Linked DNA regions of Homo sapiens: regions 1, 2, 3, 5, 6 and 7 are each linked to region 4. The links are contacts of gene promoters, found by promoter capture Hi-C in blood cells and fetal thymus (Javierre and others, 2016). All regions are on one chromosome and are shown on one strand. Each heading gives the region's core, a stretch centred on a gene start or on the middle of the fragment in contact. The rest is flanking DNA. Distances are from core to core; before and after follow the strand shown. Region 1 has its middle 5.5 kb from the start of PSMD5. Region 2 overlaps GSN (gelsolin). Region 3 has its middle 2.3 kb from the start of GSN. Region 4 holds the start of CNTRL (centriolin). Region 5 overlaps GSN (gelsolin). Region 6 overlaps PSMD5 (proteasome 26S subunit, non-ATPase 5). Region 7 has its middle 23 kb from the start of PHF19.

Evidence for each region. Contacts are between HindIII fragments. The CHiCAGO score rates a contact against its expected background, and 5 or more counts as called.
Region 1: a contact is called between a fragment that was not itself captured here and the fragment with the promoter of CNTRL in region 4, in 14 of 17 cell types (naive CD4 T cells, naive CD8 T cells, total CD4 T cells and 11 more). The highest score is 35.0, in naive CD4 T cells.
Region 2: a fragment that was not itself captured here is called in contact with the fragment with the promoter of CNTRL in region 4 in 1 of 17 cell types (naive B cells); the score reaches 5.1 in naive B cells.
Region 3: a fragment that was not itself captured here is called in contact with the fragment with the promoter of CNTRL in region 4 in 2 of 17 cell types (naive B cells and total B cells); the score reaches 6.7 in naive B cells.
Region 5: a contact is called between a fragment that was not itself captured here and the fragment with the promoter of CNTRL in region 4, in 1 of 17 cell types (megakaryocytes). The highest score is 5.2, in megakaryocytes.
Region 6: a contact is called between a fragment that was not itself captured here and the fragment with the promoter of CNTRL in region 4, in 8 of 17 cell types (naive CD4 T cells, total CD4 T cells, naive CD8 T cells and 5 more). The highest score is 17.0, in naive CD4 T cells.
Region 7: a fragment that was not itself captured here is called in contact with the fragment with the promoter of CNTRL in region 4 in 9 of 17 cell types (naive CD4 T cells, activated CD4 T cells, fetal thymus and 6 more); the score reaches 11.0 in naive CD4 T cells.

Annotation. Positions count from the first base shown.
Region 1 is chr9:120,846,793-120,850,088 of GRCh38, reverse strand. It overlaps the pseudogene CUTALP. Among named protein-coding and RNA genes, the nearest start is that of PSMD5, 5.5 kb to the right of the region's middle. The HindIII fragment of the contact is 6,542 bases long and covers 1-3,296 here.
Region 2 is chr9:121,306,962-121,310,283 of GRCh38, reverse strand. The region is part of intron 4 of GSN (gelsolin); the gene reads right to left. Among named protein-coding and RNA genes, the nearest start is that of GSN-AS1, 23 kb to the right of the region's middle. The HindIII fragment of the contact is 5,040 bases long and covers 1-3,322 here.
Region 3 is chr9:121,264,245-121,267,545 of GRCh38, reverse strand. It overlaps a transcript of GSN not described here. Among named protein-coding and RNA genes, the nearest start is that of GSN, 2.3 kb to the left of the region's middle. The HindIII fragment of the contact is 6,397 bases long and covers 1-3,301 here.
Region 4 is chr9:121,073,202-121,076,309 of GRCh38, reverse strand. It overlaps CNTRL (centriolin), which reads right to left and starts at 1,355. Exons shown (of 44, transcript NM_007018.6): 1 at 1,243-1,355. It also overlaps a transcript of C5 not described here. RefSeq lists silencers at 951-1,090, 1,211-1,270, 1,895-2,091 and an enhancer at 1,391-1,780. The HindIII fragment of the contact is 4,047 bases long and covers 383-3,108 here.
Region 5 is chr9:121,286,735-121,289,774 of GRCh38, reverse strand. All of the region lies in intron 2 of GSN (gelsolin), which reads right to left. Among named protein-coding and RNA genes, the nearest start is that of GSN-AS1, 2.7 kb to the right of the region's middle. RefSeq lists a silencer at 2,070-2,364 and an enhancer at 2,504-3,040. The HindIII fragment of the contact is 2,142 bases long and covers 482-2,623 here.
Region 6 is chr9:120,829,286-120,832,227 of GRCh38, reverse strand. It overlaps PSMD5 (proteasome 26S subunit, non-ATPase 5), which reads left to right. Exons shown (of 10, transcript NM_005047.4): 3 at 283-396; 4 at 769-897. Among named protein-coding and RNA genes, the nearest start is that of PSMD5, 12 kb to the left of the region's middle. The HindIII fragment of the contact is 5,177 bases long and covers 1-2,942 here.
Region 7 is chr9:120,898,847-120,902,066 of GRCh38, reverse strand. It overlaps a transcript of PHF19 not described here. Among named protein-coding and RNA genes, the nearest start is that of PHF19, 23 kb to the right of the region's middle. RefSeq lists an enhancer at 126-215. The HindIII fragment of the contact is 1,221 bases long and covers 1,068-2,288 here.

The DNA of each region.
Region 1 (3,296 bases), core at 763-3,262, 230 kb after region 4:
TTAACCCTGAAGCTGTCCCTCACCAGTTAAATTTTAATTTCTCCACAGTACTGGCTCTACCAATGGTTCCTTACTCTCTCACCTCTGCTGAGGTGGTATCATGAGGGCCTCCTCTAGAGCTAGTTTGAGACCCAGGGGAACGGTGTATTCACAGAATCTTAGTTCCCTAAGGAGTAAAGAAAAGGTTTCATCATCCATATAGGTGGTTTGCATCTCTGGCCCTACGTTAGAGTCAACCTCAGAAGGTTCAGGTGACCACGTTAGAGTCATCTAAAAAGAAAGGTGCTTTTTAGTACCACTATACTTGATCCCCGCCCTGGCCAAATTAAGTCGAAATCTGTGAGGTGGGGCCTAAATTGGTAGTTTGAAAAATGTTTCCAAGTGATGCTAATACATAGCAGCCAGCGGTGAGAAACACTGGTTTAGACCAGTGCTTCTCAAGATTTAATGTGCACAGAAATCCCCTGGGGGTCTTGTTAAACTATAATTTGATTCGGTAGGTCTGGGGTGAGCAGGAGATTCTACAGTTCTTGAAAGCTCCCAGGTGATGCCAATTCCAAAAATTCCACTTCTGAATGATAAAGGTTTATACTAGAGGTTCTCAAAGTGAAGGTCCACTGACCCATGGGGATCTCCAGGACTCTAGGGGGTCCATGGGGTCAAAACTACTTTCATAACAATATTATTTTATTATTTATCCTTTTACTATGTTGACATTTGCACTAATGGTTAAAAAAAAAAAAAAGAAAAGAAAAGAAAAAACAAACAACAGGCTGGGTGTGGTGGCTCATGCCTATATCCCAGCACTGTAGGAGGGCGAGGCAGGTGGATCACTTGAGTCCAGGAGTTGAAGACCAGCCTGGCCAACATAGCAAAACTCTGTCTCTACCAAAAAATAAAGACAAAAAAAATAATAAGCCGGGCATGGTGGCGGGCACCTGTAATCCCAACTACTTGGGAGGCTGAAACAGGAGAATCGCTTTAACCCGGGACACAGAGGCTGTAGTGAGCTGAGATCATGCCGCTGCATTCCAGCCTGGACAACAGAGTGAGACTCCGTCTCAAAAAAAAAAGAAAAAAAAAAAGACTCCCTACACTCACATCCTCACTAACAGGATGTTAGTGGCTTCTATTTTTCCCTCCCAAAAGTACCTGGAGAAGGGAACAAAACCAAATTATGATGCTCCTAAGAGGAGCTCAGTGAAGTGTCAAACCTGGCCCACCTAAGTGACCTACTGAGGAGAAAACTTTAAAATCTTTCCAAGCCTATATAAACAAGTCTAGAGTTGACCAAGGCCTCACATGTCATCTGGTCCAACGATTCCAATGCATGCATCTGGCATTTGCCTGAACATTCCTGGAGGTGGGAGGTTCATCATCTCTTGATGAAGTCCATCTAACTTAAAGGTTTTCACAAGATGCTTTTTCTTATAGTGTGCCAACATCTGCCACCTAGCTTTTTCCCCAACTGGCCTCATCAAGAACCACCCCAGGACAGCCCTGCAGAAACTCCTATGTCTTCTCTGCTTGAGCTCTTCCAGTGCTCATCCTACACACTAGTGCTATTTTGATCACTGACTTTCCAAGGAGAGTGCCCATAAATGAATAACTAAAAACACGGAAGACTGCAGGGAAGAAGTAAGCCTTATAGTTATGGAAACTTTTAGATGCTGAAAACAAAGTCAGAAATGATGATCAGAAGACAGTATAAGAACACCATCAGGGGAAAGGAAAGACATTTACCCTGAGAAGATCAACAAGGGCAAATCTAAGATGACCAAGGCCACTGGCCCTTCCTGTGTCACAGGACTGTGGCAAAATAATACATCACGAGAAAGGATGGGCATATAAAGGAAATAGTAGGATGAAATTCTATTCAATTTCCCAACACTGGTTCCCAGACTGGCTAAATGTGACTTATCTATACAAGTCTTTAAAAATTCAGAGACCTGGGCCCCATCCTCAGGGCGACTAATTGAATAGATTGAGGCTGGAGTTCAGGGATAGACCGCATGGCCAAATTTGGGAACTATGACTACAGATGGTGTGAGCCACTGAGGAAATAACATCACTGGGGAGAAAAAGGTAGCTTTCATTATATAGCTTATATGACCTTGAGAATGTATATTATGTCTCTCTCTTTTGAGGGTGTAAGGGAGAGAGGGAAGGAAATGAGAAACATGATCATCAGGGAAAGGAAGACGTACGACAAATCCTGCACAGCTAGTGCCAGGATGCTAAAGTATTGTGATGAGGGAAATGGTGCAGACCAGGCTTCTAAAGTGAAGTTGTTAATGAAATGAAAGGTAGACAATACGCAGAAGCAGCCTGTCATATATGCTAAACTGTCTGTTTTCTGGAGAATCCAAAAGCATTGGAAACTGTTTTCTCTGATATCCCTAGTTGGTTTACTCAAGGATAAAATGCCCAGACTTCCTTCCTAACAGCAGGCTAATTGATTTAACCAAAGAATGTGCAAACAAGATATACTGTTCCTAAATTATGCAGTTTTTCCTTCCTTCTCTATACAGTCTATTTTTGCTTTTGTTGGACAACATCCCACTGATCGATCGATCTCTGAATAAAAACACTGAAATGGACTGTTGATTATCTAAATGCCTTTGAGTTATTCTGACAATTCCTTTAATTCAGTGTTCTTTACACCAGCCAGGACCTGACCCTAGCACTCCCCACACTCCCCCCACTCCCCCTCCAATGGCAACAGCAAAACTCACAGTGAAGATGCCTTGAGTAGGATGTTCACAGAGGCAGCCAGCTCCTTATCCAGCATGGCCCTGAAGCAAAGGCACAGGGTGGCAGTTACTGGAGCAAGTCCTGGGGTCTCAAGAAAGGGGAAGGGGATGGGGTTCCAGGGACTTACCCAGGAAACCTGACTCTAAGTAGACAGGCTTTTAGCATTCCCTCCCCTTACATCCTCCCTGCTCAAACCAGCACATTCCATAACTATCAGGCACAAAACCTCTGAAGATAAGCTGTTTGTAAGTCCTTCTCTGGGTGAGGAGAGAAGCAGGGAAGCACCTATGGGAAGGCAGTTTGAATAACAGGCCCAGTCTGCTTAGAGAATGGGAGTTAACACTGAACCAAAAATAAGAAGACCTAGGTTCCATTCCCCGTCCTGCAGTAACATGGCTGTGTGATCTTAAGTTCCTTCTTTCATTCTAGTAAGAAGTATTCAAGCACCTACTCTGAGATAGGCCCTTTCCCACCTCTCAACTTGAATCTCCTATTGGTACAAGAGGATTGGTTTAGCTGGTGGTTTCCAACCTTTTTCACTA
Region 2 (3,322 bases), core at 92-2,591, 230 kb before region 4:
TCTGCAAGGAAAGAGTTCCACGGTCAAATAAGCATAGGGAATGCTTCTCACTCACCCTCCCTGACTGTTATACAACGCGCATGTGCATAATAAAGGCTCTGTCAAATCCTATGGTGAATACACCTGCTTGCCTTTTGTTTTATACAGTATTTCCCTATCTTATTGAACCAAGAACTGCTTTTCTTTCTTTCCCTCTTTCTTTTTTCTTTCCTTTCTTTTTTTCTTTCTTTCATTCTCTTTCCCTCTCTCTTTCCTTTCCTTCCTTCCTTTCTCTCTTTCTCTCTCTCTCTCCTTCCTTCCGCTCTCTCTCTCTCTTCCTTCCTTTCAACAGGGTTTCACTCTGTCCCAGGCTGCAGTGCATTGGTACAATCACAGCTCACTGTAACCTCAAACTCCTGGACTTGAATGATCCTCCCATCTCAGCCTCTCGAGTGGCTAAGACTACAGTTATGAGCCACAGTGCCCAGCTTACTTATTTTATTTTATTTTATTGTAGACATGGGGTCTCACTATGCTGTTTAAGCTGGTCTTGAACTCCTGGCCTCAAGAGATCCTTGGGTGCTGGGATTACAGGAGTGAGTCACTGAACCCAGCCCAAGAACCACTTTTCTTCACCATATCCTGCCTCCAGCTTGAGTATTTTGCAAAAGCCACTTTGAGAGGTACTAATCCAAATCTTTCTCATCCTTCAAGGCTCTCTGGGAAGTCTTTCTGGATTGTTCCAGCCCATGCCACCCTTCTGCTTTCCCCTACGGTACCGCAGCAACTCCCACCCAGCAGTCCCTTCAGAGCAGCTATGGGTAAGGGACAGGTGCCCCGCCACAACAATGCTGGATGGCTTTGGGTAAGTCACTTGCCCTTTCCGAGCCTCAGGCCTCTCCTTTCTGAAGTGGAGACACAAGCTCCTGCTCCCCAGCCCTCTGTAATCATTACTGCATCCCAGAGCAAGGCGTTCAGGAGAGCTTCCCTGCTGCAGTCACAACTGCCCTCACTCAGAAGCAAGCCAAGGAAAGTCAGCTGGGCTTTCCTGTGAGCAGTCCCCAGCTCCATGCCCCAGAGTTGTCAAATCAGAGTTGGAAAGGTCCTTCTACTTCACCCCACTTTACCCACGGTAAACTGAAGCCCAGAGAAGTGAAGTGACTTACTCAAGGGCACTCAGCAAGTGCGTGGCCAAGCCAAGGCTGGAAACCTTGTTTCCTCCTCCCAATCGGGTGCTCGTCTCCCTGCTCCGGAGACACATGGGGGTGGAAGCAGAGGGCTTCCACTCAGGCCAGCAATGCAGCCACCCCATCCAGGGCCCCTCAGCCCACTGTGCTAAGTCTAATTCTAGCCGCACAGACTCGAGGAGGGCAAGGGACAAACGGAGTCCGTGTATATTGGGCTCCTGCTCTGTCTTCCTGTGTCAGCAGTATACGTGTTTGTGAAATGATGATGCCCACTGTGCCGGGCATTCTTCACGCATCGCCTGCAAGGGAGGTGTCATTGCTGCATCGCACTGATGTGCAAAATGGGGCCCACAGGTGACGGGACTTGCCCAAGGTGGTGGAGCTAGAATTCAAACCCAGGCATGTCTGAATCTGTAAGATCCACATTCTTCTCTCAATATCAGGTTTTCTCGCTCTGTTGCCCAGGCTGGAGTGCAGTGGTGTAATCTCAATTCACTGCAGCCTCCACCTCCTGGGTTCCAGCGATTCTTGTGCTTTAGCCTCCCAAGTAGCTGTGATTACAGATGTGCACCACCATGCCCAGCTAATTTTTGTATTTTTTGTAGAGATGAAGTTTCACCATGTTGGCCAGGCTGGTCTCGAACTCCTGGCCTCATGTGATCCTCCCGCCTTGGCCTCCCAAAGTGCTGGAATTACAGGCATGAGCCACTGTGCCAGCCAATATCAGGTTTTCTTAGAGCAAAGATCACTCAGTCATCCAGGATGGGAGGCAGGAACAAGCCATTATTCAGAGCCCTCTTTCAAGTAATGGATGTTTTTGGGTTGCCAGTGGCTGGAGGACTCCCTGGTGTCCCTTCTTGGTCTCAGCTAAGGCCTTTCAAGAGTCCCTTGGGACTAGCAGGGCGGCCAGTGCTCACAGAGCTAACAACCTATCTTTCCACCCTGCTTCCAGGGCCCCTTCAAGGGAGCTGTGGGTTGGCCACACTATGACTGACCTCGGTGTGGAGCAAGGGGTAAGACTGTGACTTCTGCTCCTGAATTTGCTGCCCAAAACTGGGAAGCAAGACAGTAAATTTTTCCATCATCAGGAAGGAGTGAGTTGGGACTCTGGGGTGAGGGACTGACCAGCTGCAGTCACAACTGCAGTCACAACTGAGGGGGTCCGAAGGCTGGATGGCCGTGAGGCCTGGGATTGGAGAGCCAGGCAGAGTGCAAAGGACATAGGTCAGGGCAATGCAGGGGAAGCGCAGAAAGGCAGGGGAAGCGCAGAAAGACAGGAGGGTTCTGAGACCGATGTAACCAAGCCTGCCCAGAGCAAGTGAGGAAGAACCGCCAGGGAAGAAAATGCAACAACCTGCGCTCACCTGTGCTCAGCTGTGCTTACCTGAAACAAGCACAGTGGCTGCCACTTACCGAGCTTTGCCAAAGCTGGGGCACCTGCTTTAAGTGCATGCAATGAAGTCCTGACCACAAGCCCCTGATGCAGGAACTATTAATAATTTTCCCACTTCAAAGGCAAGGAAACTGAGATTCAAAGAGATTAAGCATTGTGTCCAGAGCCCAGTGCTGGGCGGCAGTGCTGGGTTCTATCCCCAAGATCCCCCTTCCAGGGACCCAGCTTCATTCAACTGTCAGCCTAGGAACTCCTGACCAGGGGACTTCATTCACCTGGACATAATGAGAGAGTGGATGTGCAAACCTTTTCCAAAAGGTGCTAGAAGGACTCACTGTTTCTATTGATTCCTCGGAGACAAGGAAATGGGGGGAAAGAAAAAATTTTTACCCCTCTAAATATTTTACTTGTTGAAGTATGCCTTTCATTTTTGTTATTAAAATCTTTACCCTATTTTTTAAAAAGGAAAAGGGTTGCTTCATGTCATAAATCTCACTTCTTAAAAATTCTCTGTATTTATTTATAAAATAATTCTTTTTTTTTTGAGACAGAGTCTCGTTCCATCGCCCAGGCTGGAATGCAGTGGTACGATCTCGGCTCACTGCAACCTCTGCCTCCCAGATTCAAGTGATTCTCCTGCCTCAGCCTCCTGAGTCGCTGAGATTACGGGCACCCGCCACCACGCCCGGCTAATTTTTGTATTTTTAGTAGAGACAGGGTTTCACCATGTTGGCCAGGCAGGTCTTGAACTCCTGACCTCAAA
Region 3 (3,301 bases), core at 690-3,189, 190 kb before region 4:
CTTTGGGCAAGCGAGCTCACATGTCTAAGTCTCCGTTTCCTCGTTTGTCAAATGGGCATCCTGAATTGCCGCTTCATGGGGCGGTTGAGAAGACTCAGTGAGAAAAAGACTCTCAGCACAATGACAGGGACCGTGGCTTCTGCATAAACGGAAGGGATGTTCTTATTAGTGTCATGGCAGATACTGTTTTAGGAGATTGAGGAAATCCACATTGGGTAGAAAGATGAGTGCAAGGTCAATTTTAAGCAAATGTAATACTTTGTTGATTTCAACAACATCTCATATGCATTTGAGACGATAGCCGTTTATAATGCAGCAAGGCATAAGACGGCCTCCCAGCAGTCCTGGTGCACACATGAGTTCCCAGGACTTTTGGAGTTGCCGCGTGACTCCGGTTTGGAAGGATTCACACACTCCACAGGAGACTGCACCACATGACAGAGATGTCCATTCCCAGCCTGGGTGCTGGCAGCAGCCCCATGTTCAGCCAGGGTAAAGCTCCCTCTTAACACAAGGTAAAATGTACTAGAGTCAGTAATTGCCGGGTGCTGGGGATCAGAGCAGAAAAGGCTGTTGTTTAAGTAGCACAGAAGCCAAGAGCACAGTGCTCACTCCCTGGTTTTTCCATTGAATAGCAGCCAGGGAAGCCACAGGACCCAGGGAATCTCACCCTGGCTCTTCCTCCTGCCATTCTCTCTTTGTTCAACACCAGTAAATACAAGAACCATTTCTTGAATGCCTCATGCCATGCTCTGGGCTTCCCACGTATTACCGACTTTAATTCTCACCTCCCTACCTGGCCTCCTAAGGGAGGCATTACCATGTGTATTTTTCAGATGAGCAGGCCAAGCCCACAGAAAGGGTTAAGTACTCTCTGGAGGTCACACTACTGATACTGTGCAGTCTACTCTTCTATGCCTGAGTCCTTGGCCCTCGCTTCTTTGCTCAATGTCTTATGTCACACTCTGCCACCTTTCCTGGCTTGGGAAATTCTGCCCAGTTCCACTTTCTCTGAGAATACAAGCAAGGTATCCACCCCGCAGGGAGGCTCACACCATCTCTGCTACTCTCTGCTTTCTCCAGAGGCTGCCTGGGGCCCAATGCAAGGCTGCTGGGGAGAAAAGCAAAAACACAGGCTTATTTGGCTCTGGAATCTTTGATTACAAGCCCCGGCATACACATGCCTTGGAATTATCTAACATATCATTTCCAGCCCCAGCAACTGCTCTCAGACAAAGGGAGGTGGAACTCTGAATCTGTGTCCCCATAGAACTGGAGAATACCACATCACGATGGAGGAAACATTGGAGAATGTCTGCTCCAACTCCTCCCTTTAGAGATGGAGAAACTGAGGCCAGGAGAGCAAAAGGGTTCACATTCTAAGCTAGATCTAAGGTTCCATATTCTAAGCTGGGTCAGATGCCTACCCATAACCCTGTAATTGCTCCATTTGGTGGCTGGAGAGGAACATGGGAACAGGGTATCACCAGGAATCATTAGAAATGATAATGAAGATAATGATGATGATGATTGATTGATGATGATTGTGATGATGATAACCAATACTTACATGGGAGTGCTCCTCTAGGAACACTTCTAGAAATCTCCTGGTGCTTTGCTTTATGACTCAACATGTGTATTTTATAGCTGGCAGGATATATCAAGTCTGCCTTTCATGGATGCCTAGAAGTCTTCTTGGTATCCTGTCTTCATTCCTTTCTAGATACCTCTTTGTACTTCTCCCCCCATTGGATCTAGGTAAGGTAAGGCCTGTTTGTCCTGGATCCTCACCTCAGAGTGAATGTCTTGCTGATAAGGATCTCCTCTGATGGAAGAACTTTGATATCTTCTTTTGCCAGAAGACCACCTCCTTCCCAGAGTGAGGCTGGGGAGAAATGAAGGCCACACACAGGCCAGGCATTAGACAATCTGGGGGTACCTGCTCTCTCCTCTGAGAACGCCTCTTCCCACCCAAGGGGATGGCCCTCACTTGCACCCAGGTTTGTACTGTAACCTTCCCCCACAACACAGTTGACAGCATGAGGAGTGGACGGCAGAAAAAAGCTGGACTATTAGAATTTGGAGCTGGAAGTTGAGACATGACAATCATGGTTAATTAACTGGGTCTGTGAGGACCAATGATCTCTGAAGGCCAAGGCTGCCATTTTGAGGTGGCCATCTTCCATCGTATTCACAGAGAAAGCCAATGAGGCTCGTTAAATGACTAGAAGGGTGTCGCAAAACTCACAGAGGAGATGCCTGGGCTGGGCAGCCCAGGAGGCTTCAGGGTTCAGGGGCTCTTCTGATTACAGACCTCTCCTGGAGCTGGCTTCAGAAAGAGAAGTTATCAGCACAAGTATTTGTTGAGCATCGAATGCCTTGTAGTTTGTCCCTAGAAGCAGAGGATGAGACAGGGATTTCATACAAGGGATTACTTGAGAGAGCACTCTCAGGAGATCCTGAAATATCCCATGGAACACTAGGGCAGGGGTGCAGCTGGGCCTCAGGATCAGACCACAAGCAGGACCTGAGTACTAAAGGGAACCCAGAAAGTACTCTCTCCCCCATCTTTCATCTCTGCCTGTCTGCTCACATCACACAAGCATTTCTGCTTTCCAGAAAATGGCTTTTACCAGCAGCAAGCTGGAATCTTTGTTTGTAGTCCACATTCTAAGTTGGATCAGATGCCTACCCTTTATCTAATTAACTCTGGCCCGAGTGACAGGGTCCTACTGCACAAACCTGGCTGCTCCCACTGTAACCTGTGGGTGGAGGGGGTGCACTTCCCAGAGAAAAGGGGAGGGGAAGCCAAGCAGAGACAACGGCTTGGATTCAGTCAGCCTTGAAAGGATGGAAAGAATAAGAGTGGAGGTGAGGAAGGGAACAGCATCTTCTGCTAAGAGCACAGAATAAGCAAAGGTGTGGAGGTCAGAGAAAGACAGAGCTGGAAGAAGGAAAGGAGACTGTTATTTTCTCCAGCCTCGGTCCCCTTTAGTGTTGTGCTAGTGTTGTGTTCTTAAGAACTGATTTAGTGTGTTTAGTGTTGTTTTCTTACGAACTGATTGCTCAATTTCCATGAATTTTTGTGGATTTTTTTGAGACAAGATTTCACTGTCACCCAGGCTGGAGTCAGTGGCACAAACATGGCTTCCTGCAGCCTTGACCTCTGGGCTCAAGCAATCCTCCTGCCTTAGCCTCCCAAGTAGGTGGGACCACAGGTACATCCCACCAGGCCTGGCTAATTTTTATGTTATTTGTAGAGATGAAGTCTCTCTATGTTACCAGACTGGTCTTAAACTTT
Region 4 (3,108 bases), core at 106-2,605:
TTCCCATCTCTTTCCATTAATTATTCAATTTTATTGAGCAACTTTTATGTAGGAAGAACCATGCTAGAATCTAAGCTCAAGATGCAGAAGATTTTATCTCCCTATTACCCATGATCTCTGCACCAAGCAGTCTCCTTCATAGCATTTTATAACCATTATTTGTGAAACTACTTGGTTGTTGCCTGTTTCTCCTTCTAGACTATAAGCTACAAGAGAGCAGAGGTTTTGTCTGTTGTTCTATAAACAATAAATATTTGTTGACTGAAGGACTGTACTAAACACTTAGACAATACCAAATTTAAATCCTCAAAGATTTAGCTGTATAGGATCAGAATTATTAACCTGATTTACAAATGGCAATGTACCTGAACAGTTAAAAGCTTGGATTCTGGAACGAAACAGCCTGAGTTCAAATTCTGATTTTCCACTTACTGTGTGATCTTAGGCAAATTACTTAACCTCTCTGGTCCTCAGTGCTATCACTTTTTAAATGGGGATGATAACCTCATACAAGTTATTTTAAATTCTAAATGAGGTTAATACGTGCAAAGTGCTTAAAACTGGATCTGACAAATAGTGAACACCCAAAAATGATTCGCAATTATTTGGACAAATGAGGAAACATGATCAGGAAGGCTCAGACACATATCCAGGGTCACAGACCTGGTTAAGTTACACAAGGTGGCAGAATTGAGGCTTCAACCCAAGTTTGTCTGGCTTCAAAATTCTCTAGTCCCTTAACGAATATAACGGAAGTGTTTGTTCTTCCCCTTCTTTTAGCATTTCGTCCCCATATCCTGTCATCTTTCTCCACGCACTGTACTCCGTCCGATACCGTGACAACCCGTCAGGACGCCCAAACTGTCCTTTCTCCCGCTCACTCCCCACAGACAGCTGGCACATCCCAGCTCTCCCCTCAGCTCAGGTGGCAGGACCCACAACCTTCTGGGCGCCGCACCCTAACTTCCACACCTCCCCACACTCTGGTTCTTCATCCCCAATCGCCCCCGCCGTCCCCACCTCTTCCCATCCAAACCTCCCTCCTTCATCCACCGCCCCACGCCCGTTCCGGGCCCTCCCCTCTTTCCCGTCCAATCCCAATTCCCAGACACGCGCCCCCGCCCCGAATCCATCCCAAGCCGGCCCACACCACGCCCGGTCCGGGCCTTCCCGCCTTTGCCGCCGGCCCCCACTGCTCGGGCCGGATGCCGGGGAACGGGCTCGGCCAGGTCTGACGCTCACCGCCTAGAAGCCGAGCCGAGCAGTCCCGCAGGCTGAGGTAGAGCGGGAGAAGTTCGGGCTCTTTCCTCAGGGGCCCAGCGGCGCGGCAGCCATTTTGTTGTGTTGTGCCGGTTGCCGAGGGGCCGCGCGCGCGTGGTCGGGGCTAGTCTCAGCCACGCCCCTCTCCCTCTCCGGTACTGTTGGAAGGGACGCGGAGGCGTTTCCCGCCTCTTTTGCAGCCAGCGCGCTAGGATGCCGGGGAGTCTTGGGCGCGAGGCTTCCGGCCGCGCGGGGCCGACGGGATGCGGTGCCTTCGCCTTCGGATTGCGTTGCAGGTGAAGTGTCGGGTGCAGAGTCAGGGGGAGCCGAGGTTTCATGCGGCAGCTGCCCGCAGTGCTGTGGCCTTCGCTGAGACAAAGCTGCCGCCGCCACCCTCTGAAACACGGACACGCTTCTCAGGGCCTGTGTCCGAGGACGGCCTGAGGCACCGGCGCAGCGCCTCCCCGGCCTCCCCCACTTCTGATGCTTGCGCGCTATGAGCGAGTGTTCTTATCAGCACACTTCTCTCTGACAGTCGTATCTAAAGCGAATTCCCTCCAGGGACCGAACTGCCCAGGCTCGGATGAACCTCAAAGCGGACGCAGCCTGGGCTCCAGCTGTCGCGTGAGGTTCAGGGAGCTTGGGAATCCTAGGCAGAGGATGTTCCTCTGATTGCTACAAGGGAGTTAAAGCAAGAAGCACTTGCACAGGCTTCATCTGGGGCTTGCCCATGAGCACGGCGTTCACGACATGCATTCAACAGATATTTTAAAGAATTTAGCAGATACTGGGCTGGATGCTAGGGAAACACTGAAGTTTTTTTTAAAGTGTTATCACCATTGACGCCTTTCACTCCAGTAGCCTCCCGTTTTGAAGGTATACCCTGGACCATGTTACCATCAGAGGCTGCACCCGCTCCAGAAATCCCCAGTGCAATCGCTCCCCATCCTTGACTATAATCCTATCATCTTAGCAGCGTGCCTGCTCAAAAGACCCCTATGCCAGCGTATTTCTAAACTTCCTTGCGTCTTCCAGTCCCTTGTTCTTACCATTTTCTCGCGATCATTCTATCCTGTCTTCATTTCCTTTCTTCACTACAGAGTTTATAGGCCACCTGTATAACACTTTTAGAAACTCCCTCTCTCTCTGTGTCTCAGTTTCCTTATCTATGAAATGAGGTCCTTTTACCTATTAACACTTCCTACAGTTTTCCTGATAATTATAAAAGTGAATCCTGGCCGGGCGCTGTGGCTCATGCCTGTAATCCCAGCACTTTGGGAGACCAAGGTGGGAGGATCACTTGAGGTCAGGAATTCAAGATCAGCCTGGCCAACAAGGTGAAACGCCGTCTCTACTAAAAATACAAAAATTACCCGGGCGTGGTGGCGCACGCTTGTCATCCCAGCTGCTTGAGAGGCTGCAGGAGGATCGCTTGAACCCGGGAGGCGGAGGTTGCAGTGAGCCGAGATCGCGCCACTGCACTCCAGCCTGGACGACAGAGCGAGACTCCATCTCAAAAAAAAAAAAAAAAAAAAAAAGTCCAGTTTTCCTGATAATTATAAAAGTGAATCTCTGTGAAAGAACTTAGAACAGTGAGGGACCCATAGTAAGTTCTCAATATGTCTTAGATATTTCATTATTAGACAAAGGTTACCCAGAAGCAATACTTCTTTCTACGCCCAAAAGAAGAGTTTAGGCAAGGAGTAGGGAGGTGGGGAAGAATTTGCTTGGCAAAGGGAACAACTTGTGCAAACCCCGGAAGCGGGGGAAAAGAGCTTGGCAATGTGCTGAATGTTAAGTAATTCAGTGTGGCTGGAACAAAACATGAGTATGGAAACATGAAGTAGT
Region 5 (3,040 bases), core at 303-2,802, 210 kb before region 4:
TCACCTCTATACAACCTCACCTGCCTGCCTCCGGGAGACCAAGGTCTAGCCTTGGCTCTGCCTCCCTGTGTGACCTTAGGCAAGTTCTTTGCCTCTCTGGGCCTGTCTCCTCACCGGGCTACTGGGGCTTTATGCAAATGAGACAAGATGAGGTAGTGAGTGCCAGGTGCCAAGAGGCTCAAGAAATGTTAGCCTGCAATCCACGGCCTCCTCTTCCGCACATCCAACCCCTCCTACAGCAGCTGTTAGCAATCTACTTCCTCAACCTTAACAGCAGCAGGTTCTCTCTCTCCTAAGCTCTGGAATGCAGACGTGCTCACAGCCAGCACCAGCAGGCAGGGAGGGGAGCGGAGGGAGGACAGCTTAGAGGAAAATTACCCGGCTTTCACCCCAGCCAACACTGGTGCTCACAGCTATCTCAGAGAGAGGGGATCTGGGGGCCTGGCAAACCCTTCCTGAGCCGTGGGCTTGGCCCCAAGCTTTGACCCTTGTCTGAGCTGATGGGATGGCGGGGGGTTACTCTGGCCACCACTCCGCTGGGCCCCTCCCACTCTTTGGCATCCAAAGAGACAGGGAGGAGGAGGGAGAAAAAAAGAAAAAAAAGAAAAAAAAAACAGACTGCCTTTGTGAGGAGGAGGAACTTGGTTCCTGCTGTTGCTTGCTGGGGCCCCAGGCACCAACATAATGGAGGATCCCTGATGACAAAGGGTCCCACTGTGGCCAAGAGCCTGCCCAGTTGCCATAGCTCAAGTCTCAAATCCTAAGTACCATGTCTCTGCATCATAGAGTTTGTCATGCCCAGTGTCACATACCCTGTGACTGTGCCACGTAGCAGGCCCTGCGTTCCTCTTGCTTTGTCCTGTGTGTCTCCCTTTAGCGGCATCCCATGCCTCTTACCCCTGGGTCATGCTTCATGCACCATGTGATGTCTGTTTTGTGACAGACTCTATACCATGTACTATCTCTTGAATGCCGTGTCCATGATACCAGGTCCCACCCCTTAGAAGTATGTGCCATAAACCTTGTCCTGGATCTATGAATTGTGTTGTCCCTTGCTTGGTGATTCACATCAGGAAGGGGACAGGATGATGTTTAGGGAGGACAGGCTCTCAGATGGACTCCCAGCCCTATCAACTATCATCTATGTGAGCCTGTAAAAGTGACTTCCCGTCTCAGTGCCCGTTTCTTCAGTTATAAAATGAAACTGATACTCACATTCACCGAGGATTAAAGTAGGTAATGCATGTAAGATGCTTAATCTAAGAAGCTGGCACAGAGTGAGTGCTTTAAAATGTTTGCTAGGCCTGTGCCAACCGTACCTGGGCATCTGTGTTATGTCCTGTGCCCTGCGTACCAGCCTCCCACGTGCCCAGCTCCTCGGGTGCGTCAGACACTGTGCACATTAGTGAAATTCAAACAACCCCCTACAAGGAGGGTAGGATTATTCCCTCTCATACAGAGGAGTAATGGAAGGGCAATAATTTGCATGAGGTCACAGGGCCAGCTGGAATGAACACAGCTCTGGATCTTCGGAGAGACAGAAAGCAGGCCAGGTGAGGTGGCTCATGCCTATAATCCCAGCACTTTGGAAGGCTGAGGCGGGAGGAATCCATTGAGTTCAGGAGTTCAAGATCAGCCTGGGCATCACCACAAGTCCCCATCTCTACAAAAAATACAAAAATTAGCCAGGCATGATGGTGTGTGCCTGTGGTCCCACCTACTCGGGAGGCTGAGGTGGGAGGATCGCTTGAGCCCAGGAAGTTGAGGCTGCAGTGAGCAGAGATCACGCCACTGCACTCCAGCCTGGGTGACAAAAAATACAACAATAAAACAACAAAGAGACAGAAAGCAGATGCGTGGTCAGCTATGGGGTGTGCATAGAGATGGACGTAAGCAAGCATGAGGGATCCTTTTGGGGATGATGAAAATCTTCTCAACTGGATTGTGATGATGGTTGCATAACTCTGTAAATGTACTAAACATTATTGAATTGAGTGAATTATGTGTATGTAAATTATATGTAAATTTACTCCAATAAATCATGTAAATTATATTTCAATAAAGCTGTTTTTAAAAAAAAAAGAAAAAAAAAGCCCACACGCTTCCTGTGTACTATTCTGCCAAAGCATTCTGCAAGAGAAGGGCGCTCCCTGTGGGTCAGTGAAGTTCAATCAGAGGCCGAGCTGCTCTGAGGCCCAGCTGGGAGCCAGTTTGAGCCGAGCAGTTCCCTAACACCTCTGTGGACCAGGTGTGCAGCAGGATCACCCAAGGAGCTCAGGAAACAATAGATTCCCAGGCCCCACCCCTAGCCTCTGAGTCTGTAGGTCTAGGGTGGGGCCCGGGAACCTCTGATTCTGAGGCTCAGCCAGGACTGGGCCCACATCTTCCTTTCACATTTGGGGAAACTGAGGCTAGGCAGGAGAGGGGCCTGGTCAGACCTAGTTGATCAAACAGTGGGAGAGCCAGGGCTAGAATTAGAGCCCTTTCCTCTTCTCGTCTCTCCATTCCCTCCGCCTCCCTCCCACTCCTCCCCCTGTCCTCAGCCTCCCGGTGACTCAGGGCTGAGTCACCCAGAGGCCCCACAGAGGAAACTTCTTAGGAAAAACAATCGCCAAACAAAGCTTTCCCTGATCTGGGGAAGAGAATAGGCCCAGGGGGCCAAGAGAGGGAGGGGAGGGAGAACACAGGGTGGAGTCGGAGGCTCCAAGACTTGGAGTCTCAGCCACTCCCTTGTGTGGGGCCCTAGATAGGGACGTCCCCGGAATGAACGTCCCCATCTGCAAATAACACCTCCTATGCTCATAGAAGCCCATTGTGATGATAAGTACTTTATAAGCATTGTCTTGTTGAATCCTCCCCAAAACCCATGGCTGGCATTGTCTCCTTTTATAGACGGAGGAACAAAAGCTCAGAGAGGTTCAGCCCAAGGTTACACCATTAGGAATTCAGGGCTGTCTGACTCTGAAGTCCGAAGTCTGACTCTCACTTCTACACACCTTTAAAAAATACCTACTGTACACAGTGGCATGAAGATCAGCTC
Region 6 (2,942 bases), core at 38-2,537, 240 kb after region 4:
AGGTCAGTGTAGCTAAACATAGAGCTGGGTTTGTATTGTTTTCACTCACTGAACTATCTTACCTCTTTACCCACTTTCTTTTTTCTTTCCTTTCAAAGATGTGACTATACCATATGTGTGTTTGACTGAATGAATTTAGGTCATTTTGATTTTTTAATGAATTGATATATAGCTGTGATCACTAACTCCTAAAATAACTGTGCACTAAGGAAATTGGACCATCGTGTGTTTACCGTATGTTGCCCTACTTTAGAAGAGTGTTTCTGATTGTTTTTCTTTCAGATTGGAAGAATTGTTGAAAATTCTGATGCTGTTACTGAGATTCTAAATAATGCTGAATTACTAAAACAAATTGTTTATTGCATTGGTGGAGAGAATCTATCTGTAGCAAAAGCGGTGAGTCTACTAGAATCATTGACTTAAATGTGCAGAGACATCGGTGTCCCAAAAGATAAAGAAAGGCCTTCTGAATTGAGAGGTGAAGGTTTAGAATGGATGATTTGCGTAATGGAATTTACAACTTCATATGGATTGTGTAAAATAAATGGTTGTCAAGTAAATACTAGTAAACCCCTTTCATTTTCTAGGATATACATATCTACAGTATCCATCATAATTCTATGGGGGATACCTTGCGTCTTTTCCAATTATAAATAATAGCTAAAACATGGGCAAGGTGCATTCCATGCACTATTTTTACATCACTCTTATGAAGTAGATAATAACCTGCATTTTGGGAATGTAAGAGATATTTTCTTTCGTTATAAGGCTATCAAATCCCTGTCAAGAATATCACTAACCCAAGCTGGACTGGAGGCTTTATTTGAAAGCAATCTGCTGGATGATTTGAAAAGTGTAATGAAAACAAATGACATTGTTCGATACAGGGTGTATGAGGTAAGATAAAAAGCACACTTTCTCATGCTTACAAAGCAGAATGCAGTTTGGCTTATGCTGAAAAGCAAGATGGCTCATTAAGTATATAATCTGTGTTTGGCCCTACAGTAGGTGCTGGGAATATAAGGATGCATTCCCAGCCTAGTATGTGAGACAGTCATAAAAAATACTTACAGCCCAGCTCTATGGGAGGCAAGGGCAGGAGGACCCCTTGAGGCCAGGAGTTTCAGACCAGCCTGGGCAACATAGTGAGACCCCATCTCTACAACGATTTTAAAAATTAGCTGTGCATGGTGGTATGTGCATGTCGTCCCAGCTACTCAGGAGGTTGAAGTGGGAGGATCAACTGAGCCCAGAAAGTTGAAGCAGCAGTGAGCCGTGGTTGCACTACTGCACTCCAGCCTGGCCAACAGAGCAAGACCCTTTTTATATATATATATATATTTACAGTGCAATATAATTACTATGATAGAGAAGATATTGAAACCAGACTTGAAAAAATTTGTAGTAGTAATAAGAAATGGCCCTTATTTGTACCAGCTTTGTACTAAGCACTATGCTAAAATACTCACATATATTATCTTTAATTCTTACAGTAAACTTTGTATGTTGTTATCATTAACCTCATATTGATGGAGCAATTGATCCAAGACCACACAGTTAATAGGGTGCATGTTTGAAATAGAATCCTCTATAGTCTAATTCCATCTTCAGAACACTTTCTTACTTTGCATGTCATGATACCATACTATGCTGCTTTTCCTTCTACCTCTCAGTTTCTTCTCAGCCTCCTGGCTCATTATCCTCCGTTGAATCTTTAATTGTTGGAGTTGATGAAAACAGAGTTCCAAGCCCTGCTTTCACGGTACTCTACTCATTCCTAGGCAGTTTTACTCACTTATGATTTCACTTCCCATCAGTGATGATGCCTCTCAGATGTAAACTTCCAACTGAGACCTTTCTTCTGAGCTCGAACCTTCATGCTCAACTGCTTACTCACTCTTGGCCCCTTGGGTATATTCTAGGCCACTCAAACTCATGCTGAAATCAAATTCCTGATCTTCCTTATCCACCCTATCCCCCTAATAAAAAATAAGACAACAAACTGGCTGTGTCTCACAGTCTGCTTAGTTGGGTATTAGACCTTGGCTCATTCTGAGGCCTGTTTTCCTTGCCACATATCCATTCGGTCATCATATTTTGTTGATTTTATTTAAACCCCTGCATTTCTCTTCATTAGTACAGCTTCTACCACCCTAGACTAACTTACTGGTGTCACTCACCTGGGCTACTATATTTGCATCCAAACTGGTCTCCACTCATCCATTTTTATCATCCCTAGTCTATCTTCTCATGCAGTCAGAATGGTCTTTTAAAAGTCCAAATCTGATTGTGTCATTTCTCTGCTTAAAACCCTTCAGTGTCTTCCTATATCTCTCAGTAAGACCTCAGAACATACTTGCTGAATGAGTGAGTGAATGACTGACTGACTGACTGACAGGATGCCTGAATGAGTGAATGGTTTTATAATCTGTTTGTTGTGGCTGATTCAGGCTTTTGTACCCTGATTGATGATTGCTTGGGCGGGAAAGTGCTGATACACCTAGATATAATGGAACATTTCTGTGCCAAGGTGGCAGGGCATGGTGGCTCATGCCTGTAATCTCAACACTTCAGGAGGCCAGGGCGGGCAGATCACTTGAGGGCAGGAGTTCAAGACAAGCCTGGCCAACATAGCAAAACCCCATCGCTACTAAAAATACAAAACAATTAGCCAGGTGTGGTGGTGCATGCCTGTAATCCCAGCTACTGGGGAGGCTGAGGCACGAGAATCGCTTGAACTCAAGAGGCAGAGGTTGCAGTGAGCTGAGATCACGCCACTGCACTCCAGCCTAGGTGACAGAGTGAGACTCTGTCTCAAAAATAATAATAATAATAATCTGTGCCAAAGTAATTTCTTATGCGTTCACTGAAGTTTTTCTACTTAAAGAGACAAATAATGGATTTTTTAAAACTCATTTATAAAAAGTACCTAGTCCTACATT
Region 7 (3,220 bases), core at 429-2,928, 170 kb after region 4:
AGCTTCTCAGGGGAAACTGTCTGCACTGTGTATACCAGAAGCTCCACAAATGTCTCAGGACATCGATGACAGCCCCTCAGTAGAAGACCTCCCTGTTCTGGCCCTTCTGCCTTGCCCCCGGAGGTTCCAGCTGTAGTTGATGAAGCAAAACTTTCCAAGCCAGAGGAGGTGTTACAGGTTAGTGCCTCCACCCACCTTGTCAGTGCTTCAGTCACACCTTTTGCCCCCAACGGCCAGTCAGACTTGACTGGGGCATCAGAACCTTCCCCTGCTTCCTGCTGGATGGGAGGAACATCTGATCCTCATCACTTAACAGCCCCTGAAGTGCACTTAGAATACCAGGTGCTGCCGGCTCCCTGGGTCTGGCCATAAGGTGCACTCCTTACTTGGTTTCTGTGACTCCTAATCCAAATGAGCCAAGGGTCCGAGGGGCTACATGCAACCCCTTCCCTCAACGGTGTGGCAAGCACCCTTTAATCCTCTTTTACAGATTAGGAAACTAAGGCCAGAAAAGCCAAGTGCTTGGCCCAAGGAGGCAGGGATGGGACTGGCATTAGAAATCAGGTATTTGCAGCTGGGTGTGGTGGCTCACACCTGTAATCCCAGCACTTTGGGAAGCCAAGGCGGGTGGATCATCTGAGGTCAGGAATTCGAGACCAGCCTGACCAACATAGTGAAACCCTGTTTCTACTAAAAATACAAAAAAAATAGCTGGGCATGGTGGCACATGCCTGTAGTCCCAGCTACTCGGGAGGCAGAGGCAGGAGAATTGCTTGAACCCGGAAGGCAGAGGTTGCAGTGAGCTGAGGTCGCACCACTGCACTCCAGCCTGGGAGACAGAGCGAGACTCTGTCTCAAACAACAAAAAAAAGAAATCAGGTATTTGCTTCCAGTTTCTTTCCTTCCTCTCCTTTCTGGGTGAAATCTTCAGCTTCGATGAGATCATATCTTCATGGAGGCAGTAGGTCCCTCTACCCCCAGCCAAAGGGCAAGCCCTGTGGTACCTACTGATGCCAGCCTGGCAGCACCCCAGGAGGGCAGGGCAAGCAGTCAGTGCCATACAAGCTTGCTCACAGAGGCCACCTCACGGGTGTCCACAGGCAATCCTCAGGCAACCCTGGGCAGTAAGGGCAACTATTATTTATGCCTTCAATTACTAATTCCTGATTGTAAGAGACACATACTCATTATAGAAAAACTAGGCCAAGCACAATGGCTCACGCTTCTAATCCCAGCACTTGGGAAGCCAAGGCAGGAGGATTGCTTGAGGCCAAGAATTTAAGACCAGCCTGGGCAACATAGCAAGATCCCGTCTCTATAGAAAAACTGAAAATTAGCTGGGCATGGTGCCATATGCCTGCACTCCCAGCTACTCAAGAGGCTGAGATAGGAGGATCCCTTGAGCCCAGGAGTTGGAGGCTGCAGTGAGCTGTGATCACATCATTGCACTTCAGCCTGGGTGACAGAGCAAGACCCTGTCCAAAAAAGGAAAATAAAAGAAAAACTAGGAAAGTACAAAAGTCATATAGAGAAGAAAGCAAAAATCACCCATGAGCCCAGTGTCCAGAGAGTACTACTGGGAACATTTTGGTTGATTTTCTTTGCATTTTTGAGAAAGTAGATACAAACACATACATGTAGATTGACTTTTAAAAATGTAATTAGAATCATATTGATTACTGTTTTGGGCTCTCCCTTTTCACTTAACATCCTGTTATCACATTCTACCATTAGCCCCTTCTTCCAGGCAAAGACACAGAAACTAAGAAAATGAAGTCAAGGCCGGGTGCGGTGGCTCACGCCTGTAATCCCAGCACTTTGGGAGGCTGAGGTGGGCAGATAACCTGAGGTCAGAAGTTCAAGACCAGCCTGGCCAACATGGCGAAACCCTGTCTCTACCAAAAATACAAAACTTAACTGGGCATGGTGGCCCATGCCTGTAACCCCAGCTACTCGGCGGGCTGAGGCAGGAGAATCACTTGAACCCAGGATGTGGAGGTTGCAGAGAGCCGAGCTTGTGCCACTGCACTTCAGCCTGGGTGACAGAGCAAGACTCTGTCTCAAAAAAAAAGAAAAGTCAGTTGCTCAAGGCCATTCCAACTCAACATTCACACTCGGGTCTTTTGATACCAACGCCAGGGCTGAAATGATCACAACTGTTTTTAGATGGAGAAACTGAGGCATGGAAGGGCAGTGTCCTGCACCAGTGTCATGCTGGGACTCACCCTGGGGGAACTGAGGAGGGGATTTGCCTTGTGGGACTGGAGGAGCTGATGGATTTAGAAGCTTGTGGGCAGGACACCGTGCTCACAGCCTGGGCTGGGGAGAGTAACACAGCCTCTGCATTCAAAAAAGCTTAGCCCCAGTGAGACAAACAGCATCTACTTTCCTCTACTGAGCTCCAGAGCAGAGGCTAACTAAGCCTCAGCTTCTACTTCTGCCATGAGAGTGAAAATTCTAACTTCACCATGTTGTCGTAAGGATGCCAATTGCAGAAGCCACTTGCTTTGTCCACTGTGGGGGTGCCAGTGTAAGAATAACAGAATCTTTTTATCTTTTTTTTTTTTTTTTGAGACGGAGTCTTGCTCTGTCGCCCAGGCTGGAGTGCAGTGGCGTGATCTCGGCTCACTGCAAGCTCTGCCTCCCAGGTTCACACCATTCTCCTGCTTCAGCCTCCCGAGTAGCTGGGACTACAGGCGCCCACCACCATGCCCTAATTTTCTGTACTTTTTAGTAAAGACAGGGTTTCACCATGTTAGCCAGGATGGTCTGGATCTCCTGACCTCATGATCCACTTGCCTCAGCTTCCCAAAGTGCTGGGATTACAGGTGTGAGCCACTGCGCCTGGCCTTTTTTTTTTTTTTCTTTGAGACTGAGTCTCGTTGTGTCGCCCAGGCTGGAGTGCAGTGGTCCAATCTTGGCTCACTGCAACCTCTGCCTCCTGGGTTCAACAGATTCTCCTGCCTCAGACTCCCAAGTATCTGGGATTACAGGCGCCTGCCACCACACCTGGCTAATTTTTGTATTTTTAGGAGAGATGGGGTTTCACCATCTTGGCCAGACTGGTCTCAAACTCCCGACCTCAGGTAATCCACCTGCCTTGGCCTCCCAAAGTGCTGGGATTACAGGCATGAGCCACCGAGCCTGGCCGGAATAAGATAATCTTAAACAATCATGGAGTGCTTAGCTAGTGCCAGACACGGCACTGCAGGCTCTACCT